Linked DNA regions of Homo sapiens: region 1 is linked to region 2. Evidence: promoter capture Hi-C in 16 types of primary human blood cells and fetal thymus (Javierre and others, 2016). All regions are on one chromosome and are shown on one strand. Each heading gives the region's core, a stretch centred on a gene start or on the middle of the fragment in contact. The rest is flanking DNA. Distances are from core to core; before and after follow the strand shown.

Region 1 (6,857 bases), core at 1,321-3,820, 830 kb before region 2:
GGTGAGAAATGTGGGAGGGTGGGGTCTACACTGCCAGCTAGGGTGACGTTCATATTCACAGCATCAGAGAAAACAGATTCGAAAGAGATCTGGAAGGCCAAACTGTCTGGTCCTTTATCACATCCCTGACTTGCAGTTGCCCAGCCCCTCCTAGGACAACCACAGGGACAGGAAAATCACTATTTCCAGAGGCTTCAAAATTCCATCTCTGGACATTTCTGACTTCCTGGGTGCTGGAGCAATAGAAATAGAACTTCAGCACTCTCAGATGGAGATCCTGTGAATGCCAGTGAGGCCACTGTAATAGACACAGTGGGAATGCCAAATGGGCCAGCCACTTTGGAAAATAGTTTGGCAGTTTCTTATAAAGTTAAATATATACTTACCATATGGTCCAGCAGTCCCATTCCTAGGTATTTACCCAGTGACAACATATTTCCATATTAAAACCTGTATACAAATACCTTTATAATCATTAAAAATTGGAAACAATCCAAATGTCCATCAGCTGGGGAATTCACAAACAGTGGTATGTCTATACTGTGGAATAATACTAGTACAGCAAGAAAAAGAACATGCTACTGACATATGCATTAGTGTAGATAAATCTCACATGCCTTATCAAAGCAAAAGAAACCAGACTCAGGTCAAAAGGCTATATAGGTTTTGATTTAATTTATATGACATTCTGGAAGAAATGACAAATGTGTACATGTGTGAGTGTGTATATGTATGTGTATATATATGTGTGTGTGTGTGTGTATACACATACATTTTTGTAAATATATACATATACTTACAAAGAAACTTGGTGGTAGCCAGGGGCTGGGAATGAAGGGAGCTTTTGAATACAAGGAGGTATGAATGGATGTTTTTGGGGTGATGGAAATGTTCTGTATCTTGATTGTAGGAGTTATTTTACAACTGTACAAGCTTGTGAGAATTAGTAAATTGTATCTCTAAAAGGGTACATTTTACTGTATGAAATTATTCCTTGGTAATTATGACCTTAGAAAAATATTAAAAATACGCAGACACAAAACTTGATAGTTTGGTGACTGTATTAGTCCATTTTCACCCTGCTATGAAGAAACATCCGAGACTGGGTAATTTATAAAGAAAAGAGGTTAAATTGGCTCGCAGTTCTGCATGGCTGGGGAGGCCTCAGGAAAGTTACAATCATGGTGGAAGGCACCTCTTCACAGGTGGCAGGAGAGAGAATGAGAGTAAGCAGGGGAAATATTAGATGCTTATAAAACCATCAGATCTCGTGGGACTCACTCATTATCACAAGAAAAGCATGGGGGAAACTGCCCTCATGATTCAGTTACCTCCACCTGGTCCTGCCCTTGACACATGGGGATTATGGGAATTACAATTCAAGGTGAGATCTGAGTGGGGACATAGTGAAACCATATCAGTGACCTTCCTCTGTGTGGCTTCAGGATTTTGGTCCTTGTGATAATGATGGTTATGAGAGGACTCTCCCCACTTCCTCTGTGAAAATCCATAAGGGCTACCTCACATGGATGTCTGAATCTGCCAAGCCACTGCTGGAGCTGGGGCCACTACTGTCTTCTGGGCCAGTAGTTCTGATGTCCCAGTGGCTGGGTCCCAGGCTCTGTCTATGAACTTGCACTTGTTCTGTATCTTGTGCCAGGGCCTTTCTGCCCTAGACAACTGACATACTCCCTGTTGCTCCAAGCTACTTGATGATAATTTTTTCCAGCCAGGATAGAAATGGTTTCCTTTTCCTGTTAGGCTACTCTTCTGTGGTTCTCTCTGAGGAATTGCTTGAGTCCTTAGCTATCATGGCTATTTTAATGTATACACAAGACCTGTTCCTTTCAATGGGATGCTCATGCCATTAGGGTCCCTGGGACTGGAGTGGATTAAAGCAAGTCCACCACCTTGCTTCTCCCAGAACTTCCACTCTCAGCCTTGATGCCTAGGTCTGGGGCTGTGTCCCGCAATCCAGTATTTTCCTGCCTCCATTACAGATTCTCCTTTTCTGCTGCCCTTGAAATAGAGCTTCTCTTAACATGTTCTATCTACACACTTCAAATTAATCATGCTTATTTCTGTGTCTGAACCCCAAGTTTGGCCATGGATCAAGTTATTTCTCCAGGACATTCTAATACCCCGTGCAAATCAATGCTATGAATCGATATTGAGGAGACCAAAGCTGAGATAATACCTAACTTCAGGTGTTCAGAATAGCTCAATTCTAGTTTTGGTTTAAAAGCCTTTTTTACACAATGACTATGTTTTTGCCTTCTAGCAGCCCCTATCGTTTTCATTCTTCTCTTCTGACATAGTGCTGGGTAAATTTAATACATCTTTTACATGACAGGTCTCTTTGAAGACAATAATCGTGTTTTTCTGGAATGTTCTATTTAGGATACCTTAGCAAGAATGCTTGTCTGCTGGAGAGACCACATCTGGAGTTCTGAATTGAGATGCAGATCCTGTGTATAAGAAGGACATAGGAAGAGCTGTATGTCAGAGGAGGAGAAGCAGAGACTCCCACACCACGTTGTGGGAAGAACCTGCTTCGTGCTCAGGGGTCTTCCTTCTCTTTCTAGGCAGAAATGTCTAAAGAAACAGCCTAGCATTGCCGTGTCACCACTGAGCAAGAGACCCCCTTCTCATTAAGGAATTTGGAGTGAAATGACACAGCGCATGAAAAAGTTCTCTGTGGAGTTATCAGCATTTTTTCAAATAAATTATTTATATTTTTTGGCACTAAAATAGATTTAGCATGTCCTAGGGGTATTGATTGGCTTGGGCTGGATTCTGTGTGGAGGCGCAGAGGGAGGAAAAGTCCTGGTTTTAATGGAAGAAACATCCCAGGCACATGGGGGGAAAACCCAAAAACAAAAACAGAGAAGCATGATGTACCCAGCCCTCCTCAAAGCACTTGGGAGTTGGCACTGTGCACAGTTCTGGTGCTCAATCAAGGTTGAAACATAACCCAAACATTGGCGAGCCCATGGGCCAACTCCCTACATTTCTGGAATGGTCTTGCTGAGAACAAGAAATCCACTGCATCCACCAGAATTCTCTTTATTATTTCCCACCCAGGCTGCCTCTTCTATCTTGTACCGGACAGGACCCATTCCATTCTGAGTGCAGCTCTGTGGTCTGAGCACAGATGGAGGCCCGCTTCCCTCCCTCTCCAGAACTTTTTTAGGGAGGGTCCTGTATTTATTTTGAAGAAAGATTTTGAGTCACTATGGGGGAGGGTGACACACAAGGGCATGCTCAGCTGAAGGCTGTGATAAAAGATGCCCTCAGAACTGCTATGTGTAGGATAAGTAGGGAAATTTGTGTTGCTTCTGAGAAAGGGGAGTAAGGAGAGGAAAAAAGAGAAAGAAGTGAAGGGCAGCCAAGAGGTAGAAGAGACTGGCAGGGTTGGGGGGGGGTGATCCTGTCTCCTGAAAGGCTTAATATAAGTTATTAAAAATAACCGAATGGTTTGTGGGCATGGCCATGGGGTAGATGTGCCAGAGAAGGGGCTGTGTGTTGTACCTGCAATAGAATGAGAGAGGCCAGAGCCTGTGGCTGGGCTGCAGGAACTGCGAGAGAAGGTCTGAGCATGAATTATACTTGTTTCCTTGTTTATTTCTCCTATTGAACTTGAACTCCTTCCTTGGTGGGCTCTATCTTACTTGTCTTGTGTATTTTCAGTGGCAGCATACTGCGTAAAACAGAGAAGGCCCTCGATCAACACTGTTCAAAGGAAAGAAAGACAGAAGGATAGGCCTTTGCAGTAGAATCTTTTAATTTTGCAGGTAATAAAGGATGAAAGATAATTGAGAATGCCTCAGAAACAGCAAAGTCCCAATATTGATTTCTTGTAGTCTACAGATTCATTCAAAGGAAAATGAAATCAATTAAACTTTTCTTTAAATCTTGTCTTCCTTATCTTTGCAAGTCTAGTCCAGATGGATTGGTCTAGCGCAGATGCACCTGCCCCATGAAGCCTTTTCTATGCTCCTAATTGGGCATCATGGTACATGATCTAGAATGATGGAAAATTAGAACTGAGAAGATACATTAGAAGTCATTTAGAGATATTCTGATCCCTGAACCTTAACATTAACCATAACTCTGACATTTAAGGGACCTTAAATGTCACTTAACATTTTGTGTCTTTAGGGTTTGTTTGTTTTATAAAATGTCTTTTACTTTAAAATGAAGCTTCCCTGGGCCTGTCAACATAGACGTGTGTTCCACACACATGAAACATGATCAGTATAAAATCCGTGCTAAAAATATTTTACAATAAATAAATATTACGATTTCAAACCACAGTGGCTTCCTGGTAAATCAAAGATCCTTTTGTTTAGTGGAACACCTTGAGTTAGGATACTCAAAGTAGACTTGGAGCTCAGTCTTGGAACAAGAGTTGGAGAAAGCCAAGTTGGAATTCTACTGGTAGGTGTGAAGGGCAATATGGGAGGGAGAAGAAAAGAGAAGATGGGAGGAGGAAATGCAAGAAAAGACTGGTGAGTTGGCAATAGGTTAGGGTGAGGGGTGATGTGGCCAGGGAAATTGTGCCAGAGCAATATCTGAGAGTCAAAGTGGAGGTTGTCTATGTTCTTATGATGTGACCCTGCCCCTACTTTCATTTCCTGCAAACTTTGAGCTGAATTTTTCAGCAAAGTAACCAATTTCCACAGGAATTCATAGAAATCTTGGGGAAGGAATTGTACCTTCAATAGCATGTAGAATGGAGGTTTGAGGAATCCTATCTAGACCTTCAGGTGTAGGAGGACCCCAGAAGATAACTGGGTTATGCAAGGCTATTTAGTATCATGGACTCTTATGAATGCATGAACATCATCACTTGAAATTCACATATTTTAAAACAGGAGATGGAGATCGACATAAAAGTTATAAATAGTCAAACCTCAGCTATAAAGTACAAAATGTCAATTGAGTACCTTTCATACAGTTTTTGTCTTCCCCTGGAATGAATTTTGATGATGTCCTTATTTGCACAAGAGATCTTGTAGCTAGCGACCAGATGAAAATCTTTATCAATGTGAATTTGGGGAACTTGGGAAAAAAGATGGTCTTAGTGGTATATTATCCCAACAGCTTCCACAGTAAAGCCTGATGAAAAGTTTTCATATCATTATACACCCAAATAAGAATGTCATGTGGCATTTCTACAAACCAATTTTGAGCATAGTGAAATTCAGGGCTTTGACACTCCCAGTGGGAGAGTATTAATGCTATGATAACCTGTAAGTCAATCTCTACCTCGATGGCTTTATTTCTGAAAAGACCTTGCTGGAAGATGAGATTGCTTGAGTTTTTCTGATGCCCTATTAGACTATTTGCTGGATCAGAATGCCACTGAGGGTGGCTGCGTAGTCTGTCCTTTTTTGGTATCTCCTCTGGCATCTTGCCCATTCTTGTCCATACTGTCTTCCTAGTCATTCATGCTGTTCTTTTCCCATTTGACCCAGAGGTCAATGAGAGCACTGGGTCTAAACTCTTCCTGGGCATAAATGGTGAGATACACAACAGAAGCTCCCAGGCCTCATGTGAAGCCAATGTGAAAGGAGAGTACATGGCAAGTGGCTTGTTCACCAGTCTGTCCTTCTTGTGGCACACTGGTTCATAAGGTCACTTTCAGCTTTCTTATAAGCTAAGGCAATGAGGGAATTATGTCTGTGTCCAAGTTGATGAACCAAGATGGTAATGGTGTCAGTGGGCAGGGTGAGCCCAACAATAATGTAGATTTAAAAACCCAGCAATGGCCGGCGCGGTGGCTCAGGCCTGTAATCCCAGCACTTTGGGAGGCTGAGGCCGGTGGATCATGAGGTCAGGAGATCGAGACCATCCTGTGAATGGTGAAACCCCATCTCTACTAAAAATACAAAAAATTAGCCAGGCCTGGTGGCCGTCGCCTGTAGTCCCAGCTACGCAGGAGGCTGAGGCAGGAGAATGGCGTGAACCCGGGAGGTGGAGCTTGCAGTGAGCCAAGATGGCACCCCTGCACTCCAGCCTGGGCAACAGAGCGAGACTCCATCTCAAACAACAACAACAACAACAACAACAACAACAACAACAACAACAAACCAGCAATGTTCTTGAAGTGTAAGCAGTAATCTGTAGGTTGTCAAAGAGTAGGTAACCTTCCTTCATCTTGTGACTGTAGATGCAAAGTTGTCACATTGTTGTTCATTAAGGCTGTGTACCCTGAATTCTTACTACGTCAGGACCTGCTTTTCTCATGGCAATCCTGATATCTACCTATTTAGAGCATTGACTCCATTCTCTGTCAAAGCATCCTGTCTCTGACAGCTCACCCAGTTTCTGTTGGTCAGAGGTCTGAGCAAAGATGGCTTCTGAGAGGATCTTTAACAGCTCACTCAGCTATTCCTGACTTATGTCCTTCGGCTGCACTTCACTGAGATCTCCAGGGACCCTTCATCACCATGAGAAAGCATTTATTATTGGGATCATCAGCTGATGTATGAGGAGCTGAAACTTGTTGGTAGAGTCAAAAGGGATTTCAGCCTGGCTACTTTGCAGTTTCATTTTCTAATTTCCATGACATCACCCAAAATGACTGCTGAGAATTTCCAAGGGCAGTTTCTGGGGCATCTTCAACCACAACTTTCTCCATGTTGAGAACACTTTCCTGTCCTGGTTTGAACTCAACATGGTTACACAATATTATCATGAATAAGGAGTCCCAGATTCCAGAGCCTCGGGCAAAGACTTGGGTTGACTGTTCTTCACGTGTGTCAGCCACATTAATCTGTTACACCATGGATGGATCCTGTTGTGAGTCAGAGTGCCAGTCTTGTCAGTGCAAATGATGGGGTGGAACTGGG
Region 2 (6,078 bases), core at 2,249-4,748:
GATGTCAAAGAAAACATATTTGTGGGCCGTTTTGGCTCTTGAGCCACCAGTTTGGACATAAGTTATGAGAGTTATCTTCTGTTATTGGAGAATGTATTGGAAGTGCACCATAATGGGCAACTATAAAATTTTGAAAAGCAGAAAGACTAGAGAAAAGTGTTAGGTCATGAGCTGTAAGTGAGCAAGAGGGACTGTACTCAAATTCACAAACTTATGCTCTCTAATTTGGGACCAGTTTCAGCACCTGATATGATGAGGTATAAAGGATAATGGTGGCTGTAACATTATGACCCTTACTGCATCATACAAAGCACTGACCCAATAGCTGCCTCCTCCTGTCACTGACTTAACTGCCTGAGTAGCATCTGGCTTAGAACTAGTGGTTCTGTCCTCTAGCCCTACTTCCCTATGCTCCTTAAAAGACCCTTTTACCAGAAATCTAAAATTACCAGTCCCATCAAGACAAGTATAAAGATAGCCTACTGCAGAAAGGCATCCAGAAAGAGGAAGAAGGCCCTGAGTAGAAGGAACAAGGTACCACAAAGGGTGAATGAACCTCTTAGGAAAAGGAAGCATAATGCTGACACTTAGATGAGACCCAAAGAAGGAGGATTTAACCTCCCAGGGGCTGGAGGAATATGAGGGTAGATAGAACCCTGCCGGCCAGCTCTACCTACCTCTTCCTTTGTGTGACTTTTTTGAAGGTATAATAGCACCACTCTGACTTGGGTCTTAACTCAAGCACATCCTAAGCTGTATGATCTTAAGCAGGTTAATCATTCCACCTGTTTCAATTATGAAATCAGGACCCTGATTACCTCGATGCTGCAACTGAGATAAATGAAATGATGATTCCACAATCTGTAGTGCAGGGCCTGACAAACTGCAGTCTGCAGGCCAAATCCAGCAAAGTTAACAAGCCAGAGCTATTCACTTACTATGGCTGCTTTCACCTGCAAAGAATAAAACATCTGCTATCTGGCCCTATAACTCTGTAGGGGCTCTCTCAAGTGGCCCTATCACCTCGCATAACTCACAAAAGCTGCTGTAAGTTATAACTTGGGTCATGGTTACTTACCTCATACAAGACTTTCATCAATAAATATTGAACGCCCTAGACAGAAGATTCAAATATTTCACATCCTGAAGTTCTCCACAATTATCAATTTCAAAATTTTCTTCTAAGTTTCAAGTTTGAACATGTGATGGATCTCCTGGCACTGTTAAATTTATTCTGGTTTTCTCCTGGACTATATGTCTTAGACTATATTTACTATATGTACATTTCTTGGAGTACATGGACATGTGAACAGGACCTGGCACATGGGCATTTATTCAATAGTAAAACATTTCCTATGTAAATGTAGCAAATATAGTGAGGGTGTCATGGAGGACAGCACCAGAATGACACAGGGAAGGCTATTGACCTCTTTGCCTTTGCCTTCTCCCTGAGATTATGCCAGTGTATGCACAACATTATTACAGCCTACTACTGCCAGACACACTTATAACCCATTAACTGTAGCCTGTTACTACCAGAGGTGCCTGTAACCCGTTACCACGGCCTACTACCATAATACATGCTTATATCCAATGATATAGCTATATTACTACAGCCTGCTACCACAAGAGCGACTTGTATTATTACTACATACACTACCTCAGGACACTCTGCTCTTGCGCCCAGGAACACCTGCTATAACATCTTTAAGCAATAAATTGCCACCTCTCCACACCCCTACACTGAGTAAGGCCAAATGTGACCACTGAAGAGCAAAAGCAATCATCAAAGAAACCCAAGAAGCTCATCAACATCTAGGAAATAGGACAAAACCCTGGGGCCCACCTAAGTCAGATGAACAATAAAAAGGCAGTTTCTGCATCTTTCATGTTCCAAAGGAAATAGAGAATTGAGTTTTGAGGCCCCAACCTTACAGATTAGCTTTGGTCTTGCTGGTAAATGGTTTTTAAAGATTGCATTTATGATTCTCAGGGGGAGGCAAGCTGTGAGTAAGAGATGATTTGGTACCTTTACATAAGTTATACAAGGTTCAAGTTTAATTACACAAGGGATTCTATAAAGCTGTAAGAATTATTTGATCCCAAATTGCCCAAACACTACGTTATATCTAGAGTATACTACCAGGAGAAGCTCGAGGATGTTGTCCTTTAAAGAATTCCAAATGCACATATGCCTTTGTAAGTGTACGTTGTGTCTTTGCACTTCCTCACATTTACAATTCCTGGACTTCATGATGGATGACCTGGGCTTGTTTCTAGGAAAACAAGCATCTTCATTTCTGCTAACAAATGAATGAGAAGTGTGAGCTGATGGTGATCTGGTGGTTCACCTGGCTCAGCCTGCACTGGCCTTGTTTAGACGGTCTATCAAACCAAATAAGCCCTTATCATATCCAGAAAGCATCTCAATTTATCCCAAACAAAAGCCCAACCATGAACATCATAGTAAATCTTTCAAACAGGAAAAAAAGGGTAAACTACATATTTCCTCCTGACTCACATGGTTCTCCCTCTGCTTACAACACCCATCTGATTACATGAAGGGCTAGGGTACTAAGGTCACTCAACGTCACTCTTCAGCTAAACAGTAACACTCAAAAACACCTTTGTCAGAGAAAGAAGAGAAAGTTTATTTAGAGACACTGGCGTGGAGAGGAATAATCAATGATGATTATGGTGGTCTTGGGCCTGCACCAAAAGCCCTTCTTTGTGCTGGCCCTGGGAGAACACATGGCACAGAAAAGCCCAGATTCAAGCAGCTTCTTCAACCAAAACATTGACATATTCTGCTGACTAAAGAGACAAATAAGAAAATTAAAGATGTACACTCCAAGAACCCACGTGTTTTTCATATAGGGACCTTCCCAACTCAGTTTCCCAGAGATTCCATCAAATACAGACCTTCAAAGAGTTTGAGAGTACCACCTCAAAGAGGTAGGTCCAGGGTTTGTGTGATCTCTCTTTACTGCATGGACAAGATTAGAGGGAGGCTCTACAGCACAAAGAAGACAAGCCATGAGCACAGAAAGCCTGGCTCTTCACAGGACTTGTGGGGAAGCAGGGAGAGAGTTGGGTGGTTGTTTTTTATTGGTGGGTGGGTGTCGGTGAGGGAAGGGATTGTTAGAGAAGTACTGGGGCCAGTCTTTAGAAGGTGAGAGGTGATCTTTGCTTTTGCCAGAGGCATGACAGTTTGGGAGATTGGCCAAGCATGGGTGACAATTCCTCAGTCCTGAGAGTCTCCTCTGTAATCAGAAAATGTCATCAATACCTTGTCCTCCCATTCCTTTTCAGAGATAATTTCCTTTCTTTTTGCCTCTGTGGGGAATATTTCAGATGACATGCTGAACACCTATACCTGCAGGCCTTCACCATCTTCTTCTGTTCCTCAACTCTGGTCAGCATGAGGTTTTGGTTGAAACAGCAAGATCTGCCTGCTCCTACTGTTGTCCCTCTCTCCTACCGCAGGTCCATTTGTCCAAAGCAGTCCACCCATCATTCCCTTTATATAGTGGCTTATGACACGGGCCCTCCTGGTAAAGGGACATGATGATTGATGGTGCCTTGTCACAATGGCTGAAAGTCAACATGAGAGCTTGGTTGAGTGGTTGGGGCAGTACTGAAATGTTGGATAAAATTAAGAAAATGCCTAGTAGGACTCCTTAAATCAGCTGGCTGCCTATCAGCCAGCCCATAGGAACCCCCAAGAATTACAGAAACCAAGCAAAATTCTCTATGCCTTTCAAACCCAAGTCTAGCTTTTTTTTTTTTTTAAAGAATAACCATTTATTAAAGTAGATACAGAACACTTGTTTGGCCAAATTTTAATACTGCTTTACATGTTTTGTTTGTGAAACAATTCGTATTACATTTATAACCAAAAATTTCAACTGGTAACATATTTAATATTCACTGTCAAACACACAGTTGATAATCTTGAGGGGAAAATACATGAAAGGCATATATACAATTATAGAAGCTCTTATTGTACATGTAGCATATTTTGATCTCCAAGTCTAGCATTTTTAAAGCCTTTGTCTGCTGACACATTTAGGCATACATTCCTGGTTTCATTGCCTTACTTCTAGAAAGAGATCTTGAGGGAGGATTTGAACAATGTACACTTTTTAAGTGAATTTATTGAAGTATAATTGATAAACAATAACCTGCACATATTTTAAGTGTACAATTTGATAAGTTTTGACCTAGGTATACACCCATAAACCATTACTACAAATCAAGATAAAAAGTACAATTAAAGCTCTAGTCCAGTTCATTTTTTAAATCTACTACCCCTGCCCTATCCCCTAGAGCCCCACAGAAATATAGCTTCAACTTCAAGAAGCTTGATATCTGGCCAGAGAAGCCATCTTCTACTGGTAGATATAAAATGTGACCAAATGAAGAAGTAACCATAGAGTATAGGGCCTTTGTTTTGAGTCTTGAAGCACATTTGGAAGTTTAATAGGTGAAGATGAAAAAAATAGTACAAATCACTGAATTTCCTATGAAGACCTGTACTTTTTCTACTTTTTAAATAACCCAGTTTGGTTAGAACAGAGGTTGCCTGAAGGAAATAATGAAGGACATGGCTAAAAAGCCAGGTTGGGGTTGGGGATGGGGATATGGAAATTGAAATGCTGTAGTCAAAATGTCTACATCTTGTTTCACTGGGCAGCAGTTTGCATGAAAAAAGAGACTCCAGCCACCTCCACAGTGATGTAGTCCAAAGGCTGATGAAGGGCTGCCACCTGGCATCATGGAAACATGGGCCTCATAAAGGGGGAAGAGCCCAACAACACACCTGGGCTTCAGGCCTAAGTAATGAAGCTCTGGGTGGTGCCAACCAGAAGGGTCAGGTTGGCAGGAAGGTCCCAAGAAATGTCGTCTCCTCTCTTCCTTAAAAGCCTGGTTTCAAACACACTTCCTGAACAAGGGCTGTAGTGATTCACCCACTTCAAGAAGGCCAACTTCATGTTGAGGCCATAGTGGGTGGAGGGGTGGAGGTGATCATCCAAGCATCCCCCAGTGTCCCTCTAATATCCCACCTCTTGCAGATGCCCAAGAGGCAGAGAATGCTACAGTTCTCTTGTCATTCTTTTAACATAAGACCTAAGGTTTTAATCCTGGGTAGGGCAACAAAGGCAGGAAAGAAGAGAAAGAAAGAGAAGGAGGTGGAGTTGTATTCAAACTACATATGTGATGCTGAGCTTAATGTATTCTAACTCTTCTCTGATTGTCAGGTGCTCTGCAGGAGTCACCTAAGGTAAGGACAGAGAAATGAGATGAGGTTCCCTCAAGCGGTCACACAGTGCCTGGCGCTTAGTAGGTCCCCTAAAAGTGCTCTGACCACCTCAAGTGTCGCAGCTTCCAGTTTTGCATGCCTTACTTTCAACCCCATTCTTTCCTGAGTTTTCTTCTGTTCTCTCGGTCTCCTTGCCCTGCTCTCTCCTCTGAAACACCCAATGGCTGATAAATCCCATAACTTTGTCTCTAGAGCATCTTACCTGCCCCTGGAGATTCAACCACACAAAACTCTACCTTGCCAGTGCCCAAAACTACATCCCCAGCCTCAATTGCTCTTCTGAGCTACAGATGCCTCTATCCAATTTGTCTACAGGGCATCCTTGGGGACCTCTCTGGTAGACATTCAACCTATGCAAAACTAAAACCAGTTTTTTTCTGTTCACATCTATTTCCTGCTCCTGCATCTACTCAGCAGTCATTCACTATTCACTTAGGACAGAAGACTAGGATTAAAACTTTACCCCTCCACATAAATCACGTCAGTATTTTATAACTTATCCCTTCTTCAACTCCATTGCTGGCTTGGGTTAAATGGCTTAATATCACTAAAGAACTTACCATATTGCAGGCACTTTCCTGCAATAGATAACAAGTTAGAATTCAAGTCTTTTGTTGATAGCTGTCTTTATGGTGAACATTAAGTCAAAGATATCACCCTCTGGGTAACTGACCGTCTTCCTCTGCATCCCTTCTGTGGCAGCAGTTAGAGCATACGCACTAAAATTAAGTAGATGTGGATCTAAATCCCAGCTC

The links. Contacts are between HindIII fragments. The CHiCAGO score rates a contact against its expected background, and 5 or more counts as called.
Region 1: a fragment that was not itself captured here is called in contact with the fragment with the promoter of TESHL in region 2 in 5 of 17 cell types (M2 macrophages, M0 macrophages, endothelial precursors and 2 more); the score reaches 8.2 in M2 macrophages.

What each region holds. Positions count from the first base shown.
Region 1 is chr2:217,694,992-217,701,848 of GRCh38, reverse strand. All of the region lies in intron 2 of DIRC3 (disrupted in renal carcinoma 3), which reads left to right. It also overlaps the pseudogene LOC100533848. Among named protein-coding and RNA genes, the nearest start is that of DIRC3, 92 kb to the left of the region's middle. The HindIII fragment of the contact is 3,270 bases long and covers 936-4,205 here.
Region 2 is chr2:216,868,192-216,874,269 of GRCh38, reverse strand. It overlaps TESHL (testicular germ cell expressed HSF2 interacting lncRNA), which reads right to left and starts at 3,498. Exons shown (of 2, transcript NR_130782.1): 1 at 3,290-3,498; 2 at 2,631-2,814. The HindIII fragment of the contact is 5,034 bases long and covers 1-4,365 here.